Linked DNA regions of Homo sapiens: region 2 is linked to region 1. The links are contacts of gene promoters, found by promoter capture Hi-C in blood cells and fetal thymus (Javierre and others, 2016). All regions are on one chromosome and are shown on one strand. Each heading gives the region's core, a stretch centred on a gene start or on the middle of the fragment in contact. The rest is flanking DNA. Distances are from core to core; before and after follow the strand shown. Region 1 holds the start of HTR3E-AS1 (HTR3E antisense RNA 1). Region 2 has its middle 10 kb from the start of MIR4448.

Evidence for each region. Contacts are between HindIII fragments. The CHiCAGO score rates a contact against its expected background, and 5 or more counts as called.
Region 2: a fragment that was not itself captured here is called in contact with the fragment with the promoter of HTR3E-AS1 in region 1 in 1 of 17 cell types (M1 macrophages); the score reaches 5.1 in M1 macrophages.

The regions. Positions count from the first base shown.
Region 1 is chr3:184,102,265-184,106,776 of GRCh38, reverse strand. It overlaps HTR3E-AS1 (HTR3E antisense RNA 1), which reads left to right and starts at 1,599. Exons shown (of 3, transcript NR_133658.1): 1 at 1,599-1,651; 2 at 2,389-2,617. HTR3E (5-hydroxytryptamine receptor 3E) reads right to left here. Exons shown (of 9, transcript NM_001256613.2): 4 at 2,486-2,595; 5 at 1,821-1,990; 6 at 1,350-1,510; 7 at 808-1,012; 8 at 434-649; 9 at 1-313. The coding sequence ends at 84. The HindIII fragment of the contact is 6,162 bases long and covers 1-4,512 here.
Region 2 is chr3:183,894,557-183,899,051 of GRCh38, reverse strand. It overlaps the pseudogene CYP2AB1P. Among named protein-coding and RNA genes, the nearest start is that of MIR4448, 10 kb to the right of the region's middle. The HindIII fragment of the contact is 432 bases long and covers 1,804-2,235 here.

The sequences.
Region 1 (4,512 bases), core at 350-2,849:
TGGTACTCAGGAAAGGGGGGAGACCTGGCCAGTCCCTGGAGGCAAGAGAAGCTCCAGACTGAAGTTGGCAGGTGAGCACCTGCCTAGGTGTTCCAGAGGCATATGACGGTGATGATAGAGGAGGCCATGAAGAGCAGGTAGAGGCGGAAGAGCATGGCGTCCATCGCGTGGCTGAACTGCAACCACAGCTCCACTGAGTGCTGCTTCTGGGCCTCGTGTTCCCGCTGGGCCCTTGTCCATTCTGAGCCCCCTGTCAGCTCTGCCTCCGCAGGGCCCGGCATCTGCCCTGCTGATACCTCTGGCTCCTTCACACCTACAGAAAGACAGAGACTCAGCCATGGGCTGCAAATGTCACCTGTGGAGGGAGGGAGACAGGGAAGGAGGCAGGAGCAGAGAAGTGGAGGTGGGGGAAGAGGAATGTGACTTCCCTCACCGGGCAGGTGGGTGGGGGTGAGACCCGGGCCCTTATTTTCCTTCTGGGGCGCAGTGGGACAGCATCTCCCCGGGCTGTTGCAGTGGAGCAGCAGGGAGTGGAGCCACCGAGGCAGGGGTGGGGGCTGGGTGGTGGCCACGTGCAGCAGGTGGGTGATGAAGATGGTCTCCAGCAGGCTGCCCACCATCAGGGACAGGCACAGGGCGAAGTAGACACCTGGAGGGAAGGGGGGCCTAGTGAGGGCCAGAGGCACCACCTAGAATTTCTTCTCTTCCAATCCCACCCTGGCAGGCATACGGCCTCCTTTTTCCAAAATACCTCCCTTCCTGAGTTAGTTCCCACCCTTCTCTTCCAAAAGGTGGGAGGAGCCATACCGATGAGGGGGGTGCCACTGGTGGGGAGCAAGTCACTCATCATGAGCAGGAAGACGTTGTAGCCCAGCAGGAGCGTTATCTTGAATGGGACACGATTCCCACTTTTCACTGGCAGGTAGAAGCTGAGGGCATCGATGGCAACCAGAAAGCCACTGGGCACGAGAAGGTTTATGACATAGAGACTGGGCCTGCGCCTGATGGCCACCTGGTGGGGTAGGAGAGGGTGGTAAGTAGTTATGGGGTCAGAGGAACCCTCAAATCCAGGAATAGCAGTGACAATTTCTGTCTCTGCCTTTTTCTTTGGCCTGATATCACCCTGGGATCTGGAGCTGTGGGGAATGCAGCTTTAGAATCTGGTATAGAACCTGCAAAGAGACAGTTAGGCCAGAGCCCTGAGCTTTAGGATGAAGAATGAGGCTGGGAAGCCAGGAGAGAGGGTAACATTGGGAGACCCTGAAACTTGGGAGATACATATTTGATGGACATTCTAGGCAAGGGTAAAAGTGCGGGAGGAAGGAAAGAGTAAGAGCCTCCAAGCTCACATAGAACACGATCTGATCATACAGGTTGCCTCCCCTGGACAACTTTGCGGTGGCCTTGCTGAGGCCCAGGAGCTCCCATTCTCCATGGGTCTGAAGGATGTTCCGGGATGCGTCTGTTATTTCCCACACTTCTTTCTCCATGTCCAGCAACATGCTGTCCACTGAAAATGAGAACCATCTGAATCATTTTTCAAGGAGATAGTTTCCTGGTGGCTCAACTGCACTCTTTTTCCATCCTTTCTTTCAACAAATATTTTTGAGTGCCTCCCACATGCCAGGAAACTTGCCAGGAGCTTGGGATGGTAAGGAACAAGACAGACTTGGGTTCTGCCTTTATGGAAAATATTTTAGCATCCATAGAGCCTTATTCTTCTCCCCACCCATACTCCTTGGTCACCATTTACTCATAGTTTCTTTATATTTGTTGGTTGCTCTCATTCACCCCATCCCTGAGACCTCACTGCAACTTACCTGTGTAGAGGAATGAGCTGAAGGTGAGTGTGCAGTTCTGCTGGTCGAAGGGGAAGTAGAAGATGTCCAGGTTACAGATACTGTCCACCTTCATGGGTTTCTTATACCTGATGCGACCTTCATTACTTACATATGCTGTGAGGCCTTTTGGGGTCTTATCCACATCCATGCTGGAGGAGAGATAACGCAAGAGGCAGGTGCTGCAGTTTCTCTCTCTCTTTTTTTTTTTTTTTTTTTTTTGAGACAGGATCTTGCTCTGTCACCCAGGCTGGAGTAGAGTGGCATGCTCTCAGCTCACTGCAACTTCCATGTCCTGGGCTCAAATGATCCTCCTGTCTCAGCCTCAGCCTCCCAAGTAGCTGGGACTACAGGCGCACCACCAGGCCTGGCTAATTTTTTTTTTTTTTTTTTTTTTAAGAGATGAGGTTTCACCATGTTGCCCAGGCTGGTCTCAAACTCCTGAACTGAAGTGATCCACCCACCTTGGCCTCCCAAAGTGCTGGGATTACAGGCATTAGCCACTGCGCCTGGCTCAGTTTCTCTTCTTATCTCTCTGGTTGTTTCTTAGCCATCTAAAGACCACTTACAGTGGCCCCAATGGTAAACTGTGATCTCTGTGGCTACCAGGAGATGGGACTTCCCTCTGACCAGCCCTTGATACGCACAGTTCAATGATGAAAATGTCTGGGAGCCACAGGTTCTTGGCTGCCATACTCATCTTCGTGATGCCCTCACATTCCTCTGGGTTCCAGCTGATAAATGGGTTATCCCAAACCTAGAGCCCAGGTGGAGGAGAGGTGAGTCTCCTGCCTTTTAATTTCTTCTTTAAAAAAAAAAGTTATGAAATACTTCAAGCATATAGAAAAATATATAAAATGCTGTGACAAACATCTATGTATTTACAACCCAACTTTGTGGCATTAATATTTTATTAAATTTACTTGCTTTTTTTTCAAGAAATGAGAATTATAGATAAAATCGAACCTGCCTGGGACCATTCTTCATAAATTTTGATCAGCCAGCGCTGGTGGTCTGGGAACCACACTTTGAGAGTGAGGTTAGATGATTGTATTATCTTTCTCCAGCTCCTTCCTTCCTTTCCTCCAAGCAGGCTTTTCTTTTTTTCTTTTTTCTTTTCTTTTTCTTTCTTTTTTTTTTCTGAGATGGAGTCTTGCTCTGTCACCCAGGCTGGAGTGCAGTGGCGTGATCTCGGCTCACTGCAACCTCCACCTCTCGGGTTCAAGCGATTCTCCTGCCTCAGCCTCCTGAGTAGCTGGGATTACAGGTGTGTGCCACCATCTGGCTAATTTTTTTTTTTTTTTTTTTTTGAGATGGAGTCTTGCACTGTTGCCTGGGCTGGAGTGCAGTGGCGCGATCTTGGCTCACTGCAACCTCTGCCTCCTGGGTTCAGGCCATTCTCCTGCCTCAGCCTCCCGAGTAGCTGGGACTACAGGCGCCTGCCACCACGCCTGGCTAATTTTTTGTATTTTTAGTAGAGACGGGGTTTCACCGTGTTAGCCAGGATGGTCTTGATCTCCTGACCTCATGATCCACCCGCCTCGGCCTTCCAAAGTGCTGGGATTACAGGCGTGAGCCACCGCGCCCGGCCACCACCCGGCTGATTTTTTTATATTTTTGGTAGAGATGGAGTTTCATCATGTTGGCCAGGCTGGTCTCGAACTCCTGACCTCAAGTGATCCACCTGCCTAGGCCTCCCAAAGAGCTGGGATTATAGGTGTGAACCACCAAGCCCAGCCATCAAGCAGGCTTTTCAAGTTGGAAACTCAATTCATTTGCTTTTATTTCCCCCCATCCTCCCACACACCTTGTTTTCTTATCAATGCAATTAAGATATAAATTTTCCACTGGGTTATGCTTTGACTACATTCCATAGATTTTCATATGTATAATTTTCATTTCTAATTACTTCGTAATTTCTACTTAATTGCTTTATTTTCTCCTTTGCCTCAAATATTTAGAAGTTTAATTTTAAATTCCCAAGAAACAAGGTTTTCTTTTCTTTTTTTTTTTTGAGATGCAGTCTCACTCTGTAGCCTAAGCTGGAGTGCAGTGGTGTGATCTCGGCCAACTGCAACCTCTGTCTCCCTGGCTCAAGCGATTCTTGTGCCTCAGCCTCCCGAGTAGCTGGGACTACTGGCACATGTCACCATGCCTGGCTAATTTTTTGTATTTTAGTAGAGACGGTGTTTCACCATGTTGCCCAGGGTGGTCTTGAACTCCTGAGTTCAGGCGATCCACCGGCCTCGGCCTCCCAAAGTGCTGGGATTACAGGTGTGAGCCACTGTGCCCAGCTTTTTTTTTTTTTTATATACTTTAAGTTTTAGGGTACATGTGCACAACATGCAGGTTAGTTACATATGTATACATGTGCCATATTGGTGTGCTGCACCCATTAACTCATCATTTAACATTAGGTATATCTCCTAATGCCATCCCTCCCCCCTCCCCCCACCCCACAACAGGCCCCGGTGTGTGATAGGGTCTCACTCTGTTGCCCAGGCTACAGTGCAGTGGCACAATTATGGCTGACTGCAGCCTTGACCTCCCAGGCTCAAGTGATCCTCCCATCTCAGGCTCCCCAGTAGCTGGGACTACAGACGTGAAACACCATACCAAGCTAATTTTTGTATTTTTTTGTAGAGACGAGGTTTTGCCGTGTTGCCCAGGCTGG
Region 2 (4,495 bases), core at 770-3,269, 210 kb after region 1:
AACTCCTGCCTCTGCCTCTCAAAGTGCTGGGATTACAGGCATAAGCCGCCATGCCCAGCCCCATTATTAACTTATTATTAATTTGCCCAGACTTGAGGTTCCTTCCTCCACAGATTTTTTTCTTCACAGAAGCCCTATCCTTCGGACGCTTTGTTGCTGTTTCTTTTCCATAGATAGAGAAACTTCAGCATAGGCAGCTTAAGAAACTGCCCAAACACAGCTAGTAAGTGACTTAGCTGAGTTTCAAATGCATGTCCCTCTGACTCTAAAGTGTTTTCTTTTCCTACCATATGCCCTGCTGTTTGTATTTATACGAAAATGCCACTCTAGGTAAGTGAACCAATGTGTTCAATGGAGATGTTTTACACTGTCATTCTGTCCTTGGCAGAAATTGGCCAGCAAGTTTACAGGTTTGTCAAGAGTCTCTGGGAAAGTGGATAGGACCAGGGCATCAGGTCATCTTGCTGCTGGCGTGGCAGAAGGACCCAGGCCCAGGTTGTCTAGAAGCTGTGCCAACTTAAGTTAAAAAGAGGGGGCCAGGGTACTGCTCTGTGTTATGCCGTTTGGGATTAGAAATTTCCTTATTAAGAGCTCATTCCTGCCAATTTGATTCTAGGACTTGTTCTGTGATAAAGGCTCCAGGGGCCCATTAACGAGCTGAAATCAATATTGAGCTTTTACAACTTGGACGAGAGATGTCTGCTGAAAGTGGAATCAAAGCTTGACAGTAGATCATTAAATGTTACAGATATTCCTAAACTGTTCCTAACCATTTCATCAGCTGAGTGATCGTGACAACAGCAATAGTCCCTGATACGACGGTTGCACTTCCAGCCTGTCTCTCTTCTCAGACATTCTATTTGATTGCGAATTCCAAATTGCCATTTACTGGGCAGAAGCTGGCACAGCGACCCCAGGAGGTACCCAGCAGGTAGATGGTTCTACAGTCTGGGGAAGTGGAGGGCGGTTGTTGCGGGGGGCGGGGCGCTGTCCTTTTTGCATACTGGATAGGCTGTGCTCTGAACCTGTTCCATGAGCTGAGAACCTCCTTTGCAAGGAGGCCAGAACATCACCCAAAAAAGGACACAAATAATTCTGGAGGGAAAAGAGCATCTTGCTAGGAGCCTCCTCCTCTGAAGGTGATTAGTAAGAACCGTTGCAATGCAGAGGTTACTTAATCCCAGGTAGAGAAAATGGGGGAATTCCCATGACTAGAACTGGGAAATCTATAGCTCACTCAGGCAGCAGCAAGAACACAGGCCTCCCCAACACCTCTGCTTGAAGCTACAGAGTGAGCAAGTCTGGGTGCCCTATTGGTACACATGGCTAGGATGAGGCACCTTGCCTAAGCGTGCCGTACTGCAACAACGGCAAAAAAGAACAATTTCCCCTGAAAACAATTTCTGCATTCTGTTTTTTTTTTTGTTGTTGTTGTTTTGTTTTTTTAGATGGAATCTTGCTCTGTCGCCCAGGCTGGAATGCAGAGGCGTGATCTTGGCTCACTACAACCTTTGCCTGCCTCAGCCTCCCGAGTAGCTGAGACTATAGGCACTTGCCACCACGCCCGACTAATTTTTGTATTTTTAGTAGAGATGGGGTTTCACCGTGTTGGCCAGGCTGGTCTCAAACTCCTGACCTCAAGCGATCCGCCCTGATTGGCCTCCCAAAGTGCTGGGATTACAGGTGTGAGCCACTGCGACCAGCCAGCATCTGCTGCTCCATTTCTGCATTCTTTATTGGTTTCTGTTTAGAATGCAGGCTTCAAACTCGCTAAGCTTTTTTTTTTTTTTTTAATTTCAAGCTTTTTCTTTGGTCAGAATCAAGAATTCTGTAGTCAGCCCTCTGGTCTCTACAGGGATAGCTGGTTTAATTTTGTGGTATTTGGTAAATGAGCCCTGGGGTATGAGGCCTTCCCCGGAATCCCAGAGCTGAGTGTTCTAGGGCTGGGGACCATAACCGACCCCATCCTGGCTCCACTTTGGCCTCCTTATGCTGTTTCCGGTCAGCCCAGGGCCCACATGGTAAGGAGCAGATGTTACCCTGCTCCCATCTGCTTGGTCTGATTCTCTTTCTAATCACTCACTTCTCCTTTGAGATAGAGTGAGGGCTGAGGTGAGGGTGAGAGGGAAGATTTGGGTTTGGGTTTGGGGGAAGGTGAGGGTTGGGGTTAGGTTGAAGGTTAGAGTTGGGCTTATGGTTCATGTTTTCCTCTCCCCAACCCTAAAGAGTGAAGCTTGCTGTCTCCTCTCTGTCTTTCCATCACTCAGTTCCTCTTTCTCTGCTTGTTTGCCATTCCATTTCTCCTCGTTCTGTCTCTTCCTCTTAACACCCACGTGTGCACACATCCCCTGCCCCAGTGTGTATTGTCCTGGGCTGTCCTTGGCCCCTTCCAGACATGCCCCCAGCTGTTGGCCTTCTCTGTAGGAGGCAATGGCTTCATGTCCCTAGACGTGGCTGGGAGTCTTCAGGACAAAGCTGGGCAGTCCTTAGCCAGGAGGGTGTCCTGCTCAGCTCCTTCACTGATGTGAGCCTGGAGGAAGGGCAGCCTGAGGGCCGGCTGCTGAGTCTCCTCAAGGCCCCTGGACTACTCCCACCAACACACTGGGTATTCTCCAAGCTCACTGTGGCTCAGTGTCAGGGCTGGGTACTGGGTACCATCTGAGGCTCCCTGAGCCACACCAGCATCTCTCTGCAGGGCACCATCATCTTACCCAACCTGGCCTCTGTGCTCTATGACCCTGAGTGCTGGGAGACCCCTCGACAGTTCAACCCTGGCCACTTCTCGGACAAGGATGGAAACTTTGTGGCCAATGAGGCCTTCCTGCCATTCTCTGCAGGTACTAGGCACAGAGCTGGATCCTGGGTGGTGGGTGGGGCTGTGGTGGGACAGACACAGGGACAGCTGCCACCTCTGACTTTTCTCTCTGTTTCCAGGGCATCGTGTCTACCCAGCAGACCAGCTGGCTCAAATGGAGCTCTTCCTGATGTTTGCCACCCTCCTCAGGACCTTTCGGTTCCAACTGCCAGAAGGGAGCCCGGGGCTCAAGCTGGAGTACATCTTTGGCGGCACTTGGCAACCCCAGCCCCAGGAGATCTGCGCAGTGCCCCGCCTGAGCAGCCCCAGCCCTGGTCCTAGGGAGGATGGCCTGTAGCCACTGGGGGTCTGGAGGCCTGTCCCCCATGAAGTCCTTCCTCAGTCTCTTTTGGTTCCTGCAAAGTTAGAAAAGAGGAGGACCAGGGGTTCATGCAGCTCAGCTGCTCATGGTTGCCCCTAACACAAGCTCTGTGGGGTGACACTGGAGAATAGACTTAGCAAGGATTCTACAGAGGTAGCTCAGTTTGGGTAGTTCAATTCTTAAATTAGGTTAGTTATGCTTTGGCAGGCGAAGATTTTATAAGATTGGTTAAGTTTGGCATTAAATCAGTCCACAAAGTTAATATTGGGGAATCAAGCCTCACAAGGCAGCAGCTAACTAGGTTCAGAGGAAAAGGCAAACTTTCGAGCAAAACTATGAATATAATAATGCATGCAAATGCGAATACTCTAGATGCCGGGGACTGGTAAACCAAAAAAAAAAAAAAAAAAAAAAAAAGTGAAGCGGGGGCAGCTTATTTTCTGCCTTCTCCTGCCCTCTCCTGACCAGAAGGAAGAACTGCAGTTCTCTGCAGACCTGGGGCAGAGAAAGATCTCACCATCTCAATACAGCAAAGCCAGCAGACCATATAACTGTTTCCAGCAAATTCTTCACCAAAGACCCACTTTAGTTTCCACACAAGGGTCCCTAAATTTTGAATCCTTGCATCTCCAGACAAGCCTTGTTTATTAAAAAAGAATGACTTGTGGCTGGGCATGGTGGCTCACACCTGTAATCCCAGCACTTTGGGAGACCGAGGCAGGTGGATCACTTGAGGTCAGAAGTTCAAGACCAACCTGGCAAACATGGTGAAACCCCATCTCTACTAAAAATACAAAAATTACCCGGGCATGGTGGCAGGCACCTGTAATCCCAGCTACTCGGGAGGCTGAGGCAGGAGAATCGCTTGAACCCAGAAGGCAGAGGTTGCAGTGAGCCAAGATCGCACCACTGCTCTCCAGCCTGGGATCCAAGAGTGAAACTGTCTCAAAAACAAACAAACAAACAAACAAACAAACAAAAGCAAAAACAAAGAATGACTTGTGAGTTCCTGGAGGCAGAGGTTGCAGTGGGCGGAGATTATACCACTACAGTCCAACCTGGGTGACAGAGCGAGACTCTGTCTCAGAAAAAAAAAGACTGACTTGCATCAAGGAAATGCAAACTAAAATCAAATGAAATACCATTACATACCGATTAGAACTGCTAAAAAGAAAACCCTGACAATCCCAAGTACTGGAAAAGATGCGAAGCAAATGGAATTCTCATACCCTGCAGGTGGAAATGTAAAAAGGTACGACTACATTGGAAAACAGTTTGGCAATTTCTTGTAAAATTAAACATTACACCACACAACCCAG